Linked DNA regions of Homo sapiens: all the other regions are linked to region 1. Evidence: promoter capture Hi-C in 16 types of primary human blood cells and fetal thymus (Javierre and others, 2016). All regions are on one chromosome and are shown on one strand. The core of a region is centred on a gene start or on the middle of the fragment in contact, and the rest is flanking DNA. Distances in the headings are between cores, read along the strand shown.

Region 1 (2,700 bases), core at 182-2,681:
GTCTCCACTAAAAATACAAAAATTAGCCAGGCGTGGTGGGGGGCACCTGTAGTCCCAGCTACTCGGGGGGCTGAGACAGAACTGCTTAAACCCAGGAGGCGGATGTTGCAGTGAGCCGAAATTGAGCCACTGCACTCCAGCCTGGGCGACAGAGCGAGACCCCGTCTCAAAAAAAAGCCAAAAAAACAAAAAACAAAAGAAGGGAAAAGGGTTGTTGCCACTGCTTCTTCCTAGACGGGACCTGTCCTGATGCTTTCACACCTCACACCTCTCTCTTCCAGGAGGCTGAGTGCCCCTAGAGGGCAGGGACCCGTGAGTCCTCTCTGCATCCCAACAACAGCAAAGAGCCTAGCAATCAGGAGGGGAAACTGAACCCATGAATGTTTGAAGACCAAATAAATGCTCCCCTCCCCTCCCCCACAACTCAGACTCTACCAGGAAGCTTTCCATCTACTCACAAGAGTTCTGCCAGCTCCCCCACTTCCCCAACCAAGGCCAGGAGGAGATTCCGAGGCTGATGGAACTGTTCCCAGTCTCGTTCCGCAGCAAACTCAGCATGGAGGCGGCGGCTGAAATAGGACAAAGGAGTGTAAGTCCAAGTCTCCGGGTTAGAGGGTGATGCAGGGGCCAGAGGCAGCTACCCCCGTAGTATGTAATGGGGCCTGGGACCAGGAGATTCTGCAACTAATTCATTGGATGGTATTGTGCAGGTCATTTCCTCTTTCCGGAACTTGGTTCCCTCATCTATAAAATGGGCGTGCCCCTGAACTGCCCTTAACATCTCGCCAAAACTAACAAAACCCTCTTCATTATTCCATCTCCTGCTGCTACTTCTGCAGTTTCCTCCACCTGGAATCGCCGCACATCAAAATGCAATTTCTCTTACAGAAGGTAGTTCCACAGACCCTTCCTCTAAGAAGCCTTTCTTGACCTCCTCCAGCAAAAAATAACGTCTCCCACCTCTCAGCACTTCGTTTGCCCCTCTCGTACCCCCGGCGCCTGGAGAGCAGAGGCGGTATCTGGTGCCGGTATCTTCCCAGGGCTAGGCTGAAGGGCGTTCCTAGTTACCACTCGGAGGCACCACCCAATTTCCCTTGCCTCAGGTGTGCACCGCTGCGCCCATTTTGCAGATGAGGTAAGAAGGCTCACCCAGGGACAGCCCACAGAGCCAGGACCCGAGCCCCGCTGCCAGCCCGCTTCCCGACCACGTGGAGGAACCCTCCCCAAAACGCGGGAGAAAGGGGCGACTTCCCCACCCCGAGCTGGGCCAGGCCTGCTTACATGTCCTCGAGCGTGGGCTCCGGGCTGAAGCTGAACCGGCCGGGAGCAGCAGTGTCCTCTCCCCCCGTGTCCCCACGAATCTCCCCACCGGCCACAGACATGCCGCCCACCGCTGCACCGCGACTTCACGGAAAACCCACGAGCCACGCTCGAAGCCCCGCCTCCAGAGCTCCGACCAATTACGGGAGTTCTCTATTGCCTCACGGGGCGGAGCCTGAGGAAAGAGACCAATGACTTTTGTGGAGTTTGCTACAGCCCTCCCCTTCCCTCACTGGACCAATCTGAGGGAGCTTCAAGCGCGCGTTTCTAGTCTTAGGCCCTGGAATTCTTCCGCTAGGCCCTGTGTCTAAAGGTAGAGGTACCAATTCGACCTGGGGAAGAGACGAAGGGCAGAGGGTGGGGGAAGCGCAGGCGCGTCACTTCGTTTATGGGCGCCAGAGGGCGCCAAAGCGAAACGGCAGCGGAAGAGGGCCCGTCAGGTGGAAAACCCTATAAATGAAAGGCCCTATGCATAGGTATTAAATCAGGGCTTAAGGACGTTGAGAAACCTCGAGGCCAACCCCCACACTATTTGGATGGGATTGAAGGGGAAGAGCGGAGTAAGATCAGACGGCAGTAGGACTTCAGCTCCCCGCCATCGCTGTGTCCTGTGGTTGAAACGATGGAGGTCGCCCCATCCCTGTCCTAAGGGAGGCAGTAGGCCCCAGCGCAACGTACATTGCCCTGAAACACGTGGCCCCTTATGGTCTGGCCTGTGCCGGCCTCTCCAGCCTCATGGGTCCCCAGCACGGCTCCTCCACCCCACACACGAGAACTCCAGGCTCCACTCACACCAGGGAATACGCGAGGTGGCGAGTCACAGGGTTGCTGCTTTCAAATCAGAACCACTGAGTTATTGGCCATGGGAGGAGCAGAGATCTTTATGAAACCCTAGAACAGGTGTAGTCTTGCAAAGAATGATTTATTATTGTACCCTTATTAGGGCTACTATCTCTGATTTCCACGTTTAAAGAGGCTTCCAGCTTGCTGGAAGTGAAAGCGTAAGAAAGCGCAGGAAGAGGCAGAGTCAGATTTTGGAAATTAAAATCCCAAGGCTGTGACAATTGCAATTCTAGGTATATGCCCTAGAGAAATTAATGAATATGTGCAGAGAGACACATGCAAGAAGTTCATTACAGTTTTGTTTCTAAGAGTGAAAAAAATTGAAAATAAAATGACTATCAACGGAAGAATGGCTACATGGAAGTATATTTATACAAATGATATTATCCAGCAGTTAAGATTGGATACATGCAACAGAAACAAGTTTAAACTGCTTTTAGCAAGAAAAAGAAATCTATTATTTTTATTTTTTAAATTTTTTATAGAGACAGGGTTTCACCATGTTGCCTAAGCTGGTCTTGAACCAGGATTGCTGGA
Region 2 (2,700 bases), core at 122-2,621, 280 kb after region 1:
GATGCCACTGCACACCAGCCTGGGTAACAGTGAGACTCTGTCTCAAAAAAAAATGCAAATTCTTGGTACCTCTCACCCACCGACCCATTTGAAACTATGAGGGTAGGGCCCAGCAATGTTTTTATTTTTTATTTTTATTTTTATTTTATTTATTTATTTTGTTGAGACGGAGTCTCGCTCTGTCGCCCAGGCTGGAGTGCAGTGGCAGAATTTTGGCTCACTGCAAGCTCCGCCTCCCGGGTTCACAGCCATTCTCTGGCCTCAGCCTCCTGAGTAGCTAGGACTACAGGCGCCCGCCATCACACCCGGCTAAATTTTTTGTATTTTTAGTAGAGATGGGGTTTCACCATGTTGGCGGGATGGTCTTGATCTCTTGACCTTGTGATCTGCCAGCCTCGGCCTCTGAAAGTGCTGGGATTACAGGCATGAGCCACTGCGCCCGGCCACAATTGGGTTTTTTTTTTTTTCCTTGAGACGGAGTCTCAGTCTTTCGCTGAGGCTGGAGTGCAGTGGCATGATCTCGGCTCACTGCAAGCTCCGCCTCCTGGGTTCACGCCATTCTCCTGCCTCAGCCTCCCGAGTAGCTGGGACTAAGCGCTCGCCACTATGCCTGGCTAATTTTTTGTGTTTTTAGTAGACACGGGGTTTCACCGTTTTAGCCAAGATGGTCTCGATCTCCTGACCTTGTGATCCACCCGCCTTGGCCTCCCAAAGTGCTGGGATTACAGGTGTGAGCACAACCTGTTTCTAAAAGTCCTCCAGATGATTCCGGTGCCTCCTCAAGTTTGAGAGCAGCTGGTCTAATATCCACGTCTTTCTTGATGTTTCCTTCACTGTCAGGCCATTTAGTCCTGTCTGGTCTCTGGCTGTCATTTTCTCTGATTTAGTTTTTATCAGGAGAGGACAGAAATAACAAAGACAGAGGCTGGGTGCGGTGGTTTTCGCCTATAATCTGAGCATTTTGGGAATCCCAGGCAGGCGGATTGCTTAAACCCAGGAGTTCCAGACCAGCCTTGACATTGTGAAACCTCGCCCCTACGAAAAATACAAAAAAATTAGCTGGGCATGGTTGCATGTGCCTATAGTCAGTCTCAGCTACCTGGGAGGCTGAGTTGGGAGGCTGAGTTGGGAAGATAACCTGAGCCTAGGCAGCAGAGTGAGACCCAGAAAAATCTCACTCAGATTTCTGAGTGAGATTCAGAAAAAGAAATAAGGCAGTTGTCCTGAATTTTTTGAGTCGTCTCTGTCAAAAAAATTTTAAATGCTTTTTAAATAAAAGACAATCAGTGTAGAAGCTTTAGTAAAAATGACCACTCTTTTTTACACCTAATCAGTGTTAAACATTTCACGTATAACGTTTCAGTATTTTTTACATAAACATATGCATTTTTACAAAAGTAGTATTTTTAAAAACAACAGTGTGTCAGTTGGGCATTATAGCATATTTCTAAGCTTAATGCATCATGAAAATACTCTGAGTAAGTAGAATTCTACAATGATGATGACCCCTTGTATCTAGAATCAAGAGGGAAGTATGTGTTCCCTACTCCTCTGGGAAGCTCCTCTTGGGATATGATTTCCCAAGTCTCTCCTATGTCTATGGGGTGTGGAGATTGTGTTAAATAATGGAAAGAGCATGAAATTTGCTGTCTGGAGTCCTCAGACCTATTTTTGATTCACATTTTCTATTACTTTCTAGCTGTGTGATCTTGGGCAAATCACTTAATCTCCCTGATCTTTTTTCCTTCTTCATCTCCCTGATCTTTTTTCCCTTCTCTGAAGAGAGTATGATACCTGCCTGTAAGTTTGGTATGTGGACTAAACATAAGCATAACACACTCAGCCCACTTAGTGCTCAGGAATTCAGCCGTGGCAGTGAGATGGAGTGTGTGTTTAGAACTGTTGATTGATCTGGCTCTCCCTGATTAGGAGGCCGAGATCGAGACTCGGATTGCTGAGCTGCGGAAGGAGGGTTTCTGGTCACTGAAGAGGCTGCCTAAGGTGCCAGAGCCCCCTCGCCCCAAAGGTCACTGGGACTATTTGTGCGAAGAGATGCAGTGGCTCTCTGCTGACTTTGCTCAGGAGCGCCGTTGGAAACGGGGTGTGGCCCGGAAGGTAGGTCTTCCGCTGGGACTTCCTTCCTTTTCCTTTTCAGGTCTGTTCCTTCCCGGTTTGTTGGAAGGGGACCAGACAGAATGGTGTAGGCATTAAGAGCAAACTCTTGATTTTCCAGATTTCTTGGCCTTGATTATTTTCTTTGCCTTTGGGTGGGGAAGTCTGGCTTTGAGTGTTTTCACCCTGGGTCTTCATTCCCACAGGTGGTGCGCATGGTGATCCGGCACCACGAGGAGCAGCGGCAGAAAGAGGAACGGGCCCGGAGGGAGGAGCAGGCCAAGCTGCGTCGAATTGCTTCCACCATGGCCAAGGATGTCAGGCAGTTCTGGAGCAATGTGGAGAAGGTAGACAGTGGGGATCAGGAAAGGAAAATGGCCTTGGATTAGATTGGTAGATGGCGTGGTAGTAGGAATGATCAAAACTTCTTGAGGGAGTAAATATAATTTCAGGCAACTCTAATGACGTTTATGTTGTATGGATAAAAAAGTATAGTGGCAAAATATGGGTCCTGCCTTTGGGGATTGTTAATAGTTCTCCTTGACACCTCTAGGCCATCTGTCCCTTGCAGGGCATTTAGCATGTGTT
Region 3 (2,700 bases), core at 89-2,588, 260 kb after region 1:
AATACAAAAAATTAGCCGGGCATTCATTGTGGTGGGTGCATGTAATCCCAGCTACTCGAAAGGGTGAGGCAGGAGAATTGCTTGAACCCAGGAGGCGGATATTGCAGTGAGCCGAGATCTTGCCATTGCACTCCAGCCTGGCAACAATAGTGAAACTCCTTCTCAAAAAAAAACAAAAAAAAAAACAAAAAAAACCCAAAAAAATCCAAAGTAACTATAAGCCGGGTGCTGTAGCTCACGCCTGTAATGCCAGCACTTTGGGAGGCCTCCGAGGCAGGCGGATCACCTGAGGACAACATGGTGAAACTGTCTCTACTAAAAATACAGAAAACTTAGCTGGGCATGGTGGCTCATGCCTGTAATCCCAGCTACTCAGGAAGCTGAGGCAGGAGAATCGTTTGAACCCAGGAGGAGGAGGTTGCAGTGAGCCGAGGTCAGGCCCACTGCACTCCAGCCTGGGGGACAGAGGGAGATTCTGTCTCAAAAATAAATAAATAGTAACGATAAAGCAAACATTTGTTTTACCTCTACCTTAAAAACATTTTCAGTAGTTGTTGTTTTGTAAAGACAGGGTCTGACTATGTTTCACCTGCTGGTCTGGAACTCCTGGACTCAAGCAATCCTCTTTCCTCAGCCTCCCAAAGTGTTGAGATTACAGGCGTGAGCCACTGCTCCCGGCCAGTTGTTTTTAAGTTTAAAAAATAAGTATAACAAACACCTGTGGCCTGCGCCTGTAATCCCAGCTACTCAGGAGGCTGAGGCAGGAGAATCGCTTGAACCCAGGAGACAGAGGTTGCAGTGAGCTGAGATCGCGCCACTACACTCCAGCCTGGCAACGAGTAACACTCTGTCTCAAACAACAACAACAAAAACACACCAAAAAAACACCTGTGTACCACTCTCCAGGAATTAACAAACACATTCTGCTATTTTTTTGTTTTGTTTCCTTTTTTTTTTCTAACAAGACCACAAAACAGAAGGTACTTATTCTACACACCTTTTTTTTTTTTTTTTTTTTTTAGAATGCAGTACTTAATGGTCACTCTTTTGTGAGTCACTTAATGGATCAAGGCTTTTCTTATTTATTGTATGTCATGTGACCTCAGCCAATATTCTCCTTTTGTTGTTGTTGTTTTGTGTTTGTTTGTTTTGAGGTGGAGTCTCACTGTTGCCCAAGGATGGAGTGTAGTGGCGTAATCTCGGCTCACTGAAAACTCAGCTTCCTGGGTTCAAGAATTTTTTTTAATTTTTTTTGAGATGGACTCTCGCTCTGTTGCCCAGACTGGAGTGCAGTGACGTGATCTCGGCTCACTGCAACCTCTGCCTCCCGGGTTCAAGCAATTCTCTGCCTCAGCCTCCCAAGTACCTGGGATTACAGGCGCCTGCCAAGATTACCCACTAATTTTTTTGTGTTTTTAATAGAGACGGGGTTTCGCTATCTTGGCCAGGCTGGTCTTGAACTCCTGACCTCATGATCCACCCGCCTCGGCCTCCCAAAGTGCTGGGATTAGGCATGAGCCACCGTGCCCGGCCGAATAATTTTTTAATTCAAATAAAAAAGTTTGGGCATGCTTACAGTCCCTCCGACAGCAGTGTGTGCACCTAGCTGCCCATACCCTTCCTAGAACTGGGTGTCATAATTACAGTTTCCTTCTCATAAGGTTGGGATGTTTTGGATTCGTGTGTTTGCTTAAGATGTGCTGGGTTCAACCCACGAAGGCTCTGTGCTTGGCTGTGTTCTGAGAAGTTTTCAGTCCTTGTGGAGAGGAGAGGTATTCTAGCACCCTCTCCTAGCCTCCTGGGACCTCAGCCACCCACAACTGCCTTCCAGAGTTTCCTCGCAGAGGTTCCCCAGAAGAGTTATTTGCTAAATCTGTCAACCTTACCACCACATTCCCTTTCTGCTTAAAGATTTCAATCTCCATCACCTTTTACCTAGACTACAGCAGTCACTTAGACTCTTATCCCAACAGTCCGTTGTCAGCACGTTGTATCTGGCCTCTGCTCAAAGCCCTCCTGCTACACTTCACATTCCATCTAAGCTCCTTAGCTTGGTCTTCAAAGCCCTGCCAGATGCAGGCCTGATCCTCTTCTAAGACCGCATCTCCCACTGTTCCCCTTCCCCTGCAGTCTCCTGGTGGGTTCCTGGCAGGATAAGCTGGGTCTAGCCTCAGGGACTTTGTACTTATTATTATTATTATTTTATGAGACAGAGTTTTGCTCTTGTCACCCAGGCTGGAGTACAATGGAATGATCTTGGCTCACTGCAACCTCCACTTCCTGGGTTCAAGCGATTCTCCTACCTCAGCCTCCCAAGTAGCTGGGAGTACAGGTGCTCGCCACCAGGCCCAGCAAATTTTTGTAGTAGAGATGGGTTTTCACCATGTTGGCCAGGCTGGTCTCGAACTCCTGATCTCAGGTGATACACCTGCTTCAGCCTTCCAAAGTGCTGAGATTATAGGCGTGAGCCACCGCGCCCGGCCCCTTTGTACTTATTTACCTCTGCTTAGGATGCTCTTCCCCCAGAGCGTCTCTGTTCAAATGTCACCACACTAGAGAGGCCCTCCCAGACAATCTTGTCTAAAATAATGCCTCTTCTGCCCCTCACCCGAGCTCATCCACCCCACTTCATTTTTTCATAACACGTATCAGCCATTATTATATTTTATTTTATTCATTTATTGAGATAGAGTCTCGCTG
Region 4 (2,700 bases), core at 126-2,625, 380 kb before region 1:
TGAGTATTGGCTGAGTGCAGTGGCTCTGGCCTGTAATACCAGCAACCTGGGAGGCCGAGGTGGGAGGATCATTTGAGGCAGGAGTTGGAGACTAGCCTGGCCAACATAGTGAGACCCCATGTCTACTTTATTAAAAGAAAAAAACAGGCCAGGCGCAGTGGCTCACACCTGTAATCCCAGCACTTTGGGAGGCCAAGGCGGGCAGAACACCTAAGGTCGGGAGTTCGAGACCAGCCTGACCAACATGGACAAACCCCGTCTCTACTAAAAATACAAAATTAGCTGGGCATGGTGGCACTTCCAGCTACTCTGGAAGCTGAGGCAGGAGAATTGCTTGAATCCAGGGCGGAGGTTGCAGTGAGCTGAGATCACACCATTGCACTCCAGCCTGGGCGACAAGAGCAAAACTCCGTTTCAAAAAAAAAAAAAAAAAAGAAAAGAAAAGAAAAAAGAAAGAAAGAAAGAAAAAGAATCAGTGAGTATTCACCAAGGCTCCCAGGGCTAGGCCAAGTACTAGAGCTCAGGATACGGAGATGACTCAGACCAGGCCCCAGACACTTGCAGTCTAATTGTGGAGCCAGACATGGAAGTGAGGAATTCAAGTATCTTGTGAGAAGTGCGAGAACAACAGTATCTGTAGGATGCTGTGGGAATTCACAGTCCAAAGCAGCCACCTCTGCCTGAGGTTGGCAGGGAGACCTCACAGAGGCAAAACTGAGGACGTGCTTGAGGGATGAGGAAGAGGTTTGAGGGGAAGACAGAGGGTGTTCCAGGCAGAGGGATCAGCAACTGCAAAGCTGTGGAAATGTGAGACCCTACACACTGGTTCAGGAAGCTTCAGCAGATCCTACTGAAGGTGGCTTATGCCTGTAATCCCAGCTACCTGGGAGGCTGAGGCTGGAGGACTGCTTGAGCCCAGGAGTTCAAGACCAGCCTTAACAACATAGCAAGACCACATCTCTAAAAATTCAGAAAAAAAGGCTGGGCACAGTGGCTCATGCCAGTAATCCTAGCACTTTGGGAGGCCAAGGCGGGCGGGATTGCCTGAGGTTAGGAGTTCGAGACCAGCCTGGCCAACATGGTGAAACCCCGTCTCTACTAAAAATACAAAAATTAGGTGTGCGTGGTGGCAGTCGCCTGTAATCTCAGCTACTCGGGAGGCTGAGGCGGGAGAATCGCTTGAACCCAGGAGACATAGGTTGTAGTGAGCCAAGATCACACCATTGCACTCCAGCCTGGGAGATGAGCGAAAATCTGTCTCCAAAAAATAAATAAATCAATTAATAAATAAATCAGTAAAAAAGAACCGGGCCCGGCGCGGTGGCTCACGCCTATAATCCCAGCACTTTGGGAAGCTGAGGCGGGCGCATCACTTGAGGTCAGGAGTTCGAGACCAGCCTGGTCAACATTGCGAAACCCTGTCTCTACTAAAAATACAAAAATTAGCCGGGTGTGGTAGTGCGCGCCTGTAATCCCAGCTACTCGGGAGGCTGAGGCAGGTGAATCACTTGAACACGGGAGGCGGAGGTTGCAGTGAGCCGAGATCGCGCCACTGCACTGCAGCCTGGGCGACAGAGCGAGACTCCGTCTCAAAAATAAATAAATAAATAAATAAATAAATAAATAAATAAATATAAATAAAATATAAAAAGTAGCATTGATGTTTACAATATCCCTGAGCGGCAGGCGTTTCTCCCTTTTGCAGATGCTCAGTGGCTTGGCCGGAGATACATCCAAGTGGTGGGTGTAGCCTGGGGGTTCAATCCTCCTGTGGCGCCCCAGAACCCGGTGCCTCCTCCAACGTCCGGCATCTGATGAGGATCCGACCCAGGCGGGCGGCGGCGGGATTCGCTCTTCCCCTTCGCTCCCCGCGAGAAAGCCCCGAGGGCCGCGGCGGCGCAGAGCCGGTGACAGTTGAAGCTTAGGCGGGAAGAGGGAGGCGCGAGGCGGGAAGAGGGAGTTTGGGCCTCGGCAGCCGCCGTACAAACACCGCTCTGGTCACCATGGCAACAGCGGGATGCCGCGAACGGCTTCTGGGCGGGGCCGGTCCCTCGGACGATTGGACCTAGCTTGGCGCGGAATCCGTGAATTGCCCGCGGCCCGAGGGTGCAGGTGATGGGTGCTGACCGACTGGGGAAGCCCGGAGTGTGGGGACTGAGGAGGGGAGTGGCCTGGGGCGCGCTGGAGCCTGCGAGGAAGGCGCCGCCTCGGATCCCCCGCCCCCCATTCCCCTTCCCGAATTCCACCCTCCGGCCCAGCCATGGCCTCAGTTTCCCCAAACAGGAAAGGGAAGGAGGGTGGGCACCCCGGTCTAACGGTGCCTCTCAGCCTCTGAGACCCAGAACCTTCCTTCTGCAGCTCCCGGACTGACTGGCTCTGCCCTTCCCCATGGACGTAAGTCCGGGCCCCTTCCCCTCTCTGGGCCCCCTCAGCGCCCTCTCCTAACCCCGAATGGGCCTGTCTTCCAGCACGGACTGGGGAGGGGGCTTCTACCCAACAGAGACTACAACCTGCCAGCTCAGGACGAGAGCTGTCAGGAAGAGTCCAGGAATGGACTTCCCACGGGAGGGCACATTTCTGGTATTCCTGGCAAGATAAGGAGTTGACTAAGTAATCCACGAGAAAAGGCATTTCCGGCAGAGGAAACAGTCTGGGGGTGAGAGGGAGGCTGCAGCATTTGGGGAACTGCTAGGGCTATCG

What was found. Contacts are between HindIII fragments. The CHiCAGO score rates a contact against its expected background, and 5 or more counts as called.
Region 2: a contact is called between a fragment that was not itself captured here and the fragment with the promoter of DCTPP1 in region 1, in 4 of 17 cell types (total B cells, naive B cells, activated CD4 T cells and 1 more). The highest score is 7.1, in total B cells.
Region 3: a fragment that was not itself captured here is called in contact with the fragment with the promoter of DCTPP1 in region 1 in 1 of 17 cell types (naive B cells); the score reaches 6.0 in naive B cells.
Region 4: a fragment that was not itself captured here is called in contact with the fragment with the promoter of DCTPP1 in region 1 in 2 of 17 cell types (fetal thymus and endothelial precursors); the score reaches 8.2 in fetal thymus.

What each region holds. Positions count from the first base shown.
Region 1 is chr16:30,428,599-30,431,298 of GRCh38, forward strand. It overlaps DCTPP1 (dCTP pyrophosphatase 1), which reads right to left and starts at 1,432. Exons shown (of 3, transcript NM_024096.2): 1 at 1,282-1,432; 2 at 459-569. The coding sequence starts at 1,382. RefSeq lists enhancers at 1-35, 36-536, 1,290-1,369, 1,770-1,879. The HindIII fragment of the contact is 11,131 bases long and covers 441-2,700 here.
Region 2 is chr16:30,705,254-30,707,953 of GRCh38, forward strand. It overlaps SRCAP (Snf2 related CREBBP activator protein), which reads left to right. Exons shown (of 34, transcript NM_006662.3): 5 at 1,930-2,115; 6 at 2,319-2,459. Among named protein-coding and RNA genes, the nearest start is that of SNORA30, 3.9 kb to the right of the region's middle. The HindIII fragment of the contact is 157 bases long and covers 1,294-1,450 here.
Region 3 is chr16:30,686,871-30,689,570 of GRCh38, forward strand. No RefSeq gene overlaps it. Among named protein-coding and RNA genes, the nearest start is that of SRCAP, 11 kb to the right of the region's middle. The HindIII fragment of the contact is 3,737 bases long and covers 1-2,700 here.
Region 4 is chr16:30,051,106-30,053,805 of GRCh38, forward strand. It overlaps LOC112694756 (uncharaterized LOC112694756), which reads left to right and starts at 2,046. Exons shown (of 14, transcript NM_001365304.2): 1 at 2,046-2,112; 2 at 2,359-2,394. The coding sequence starts at 2,389. It also overlaps a transcript of TLCD3B not described here. RefSeq lists an enhancer at 2,449-2,700. The HindIII fragment of the contact is 1,085 bases long and covers 834-1,918 here.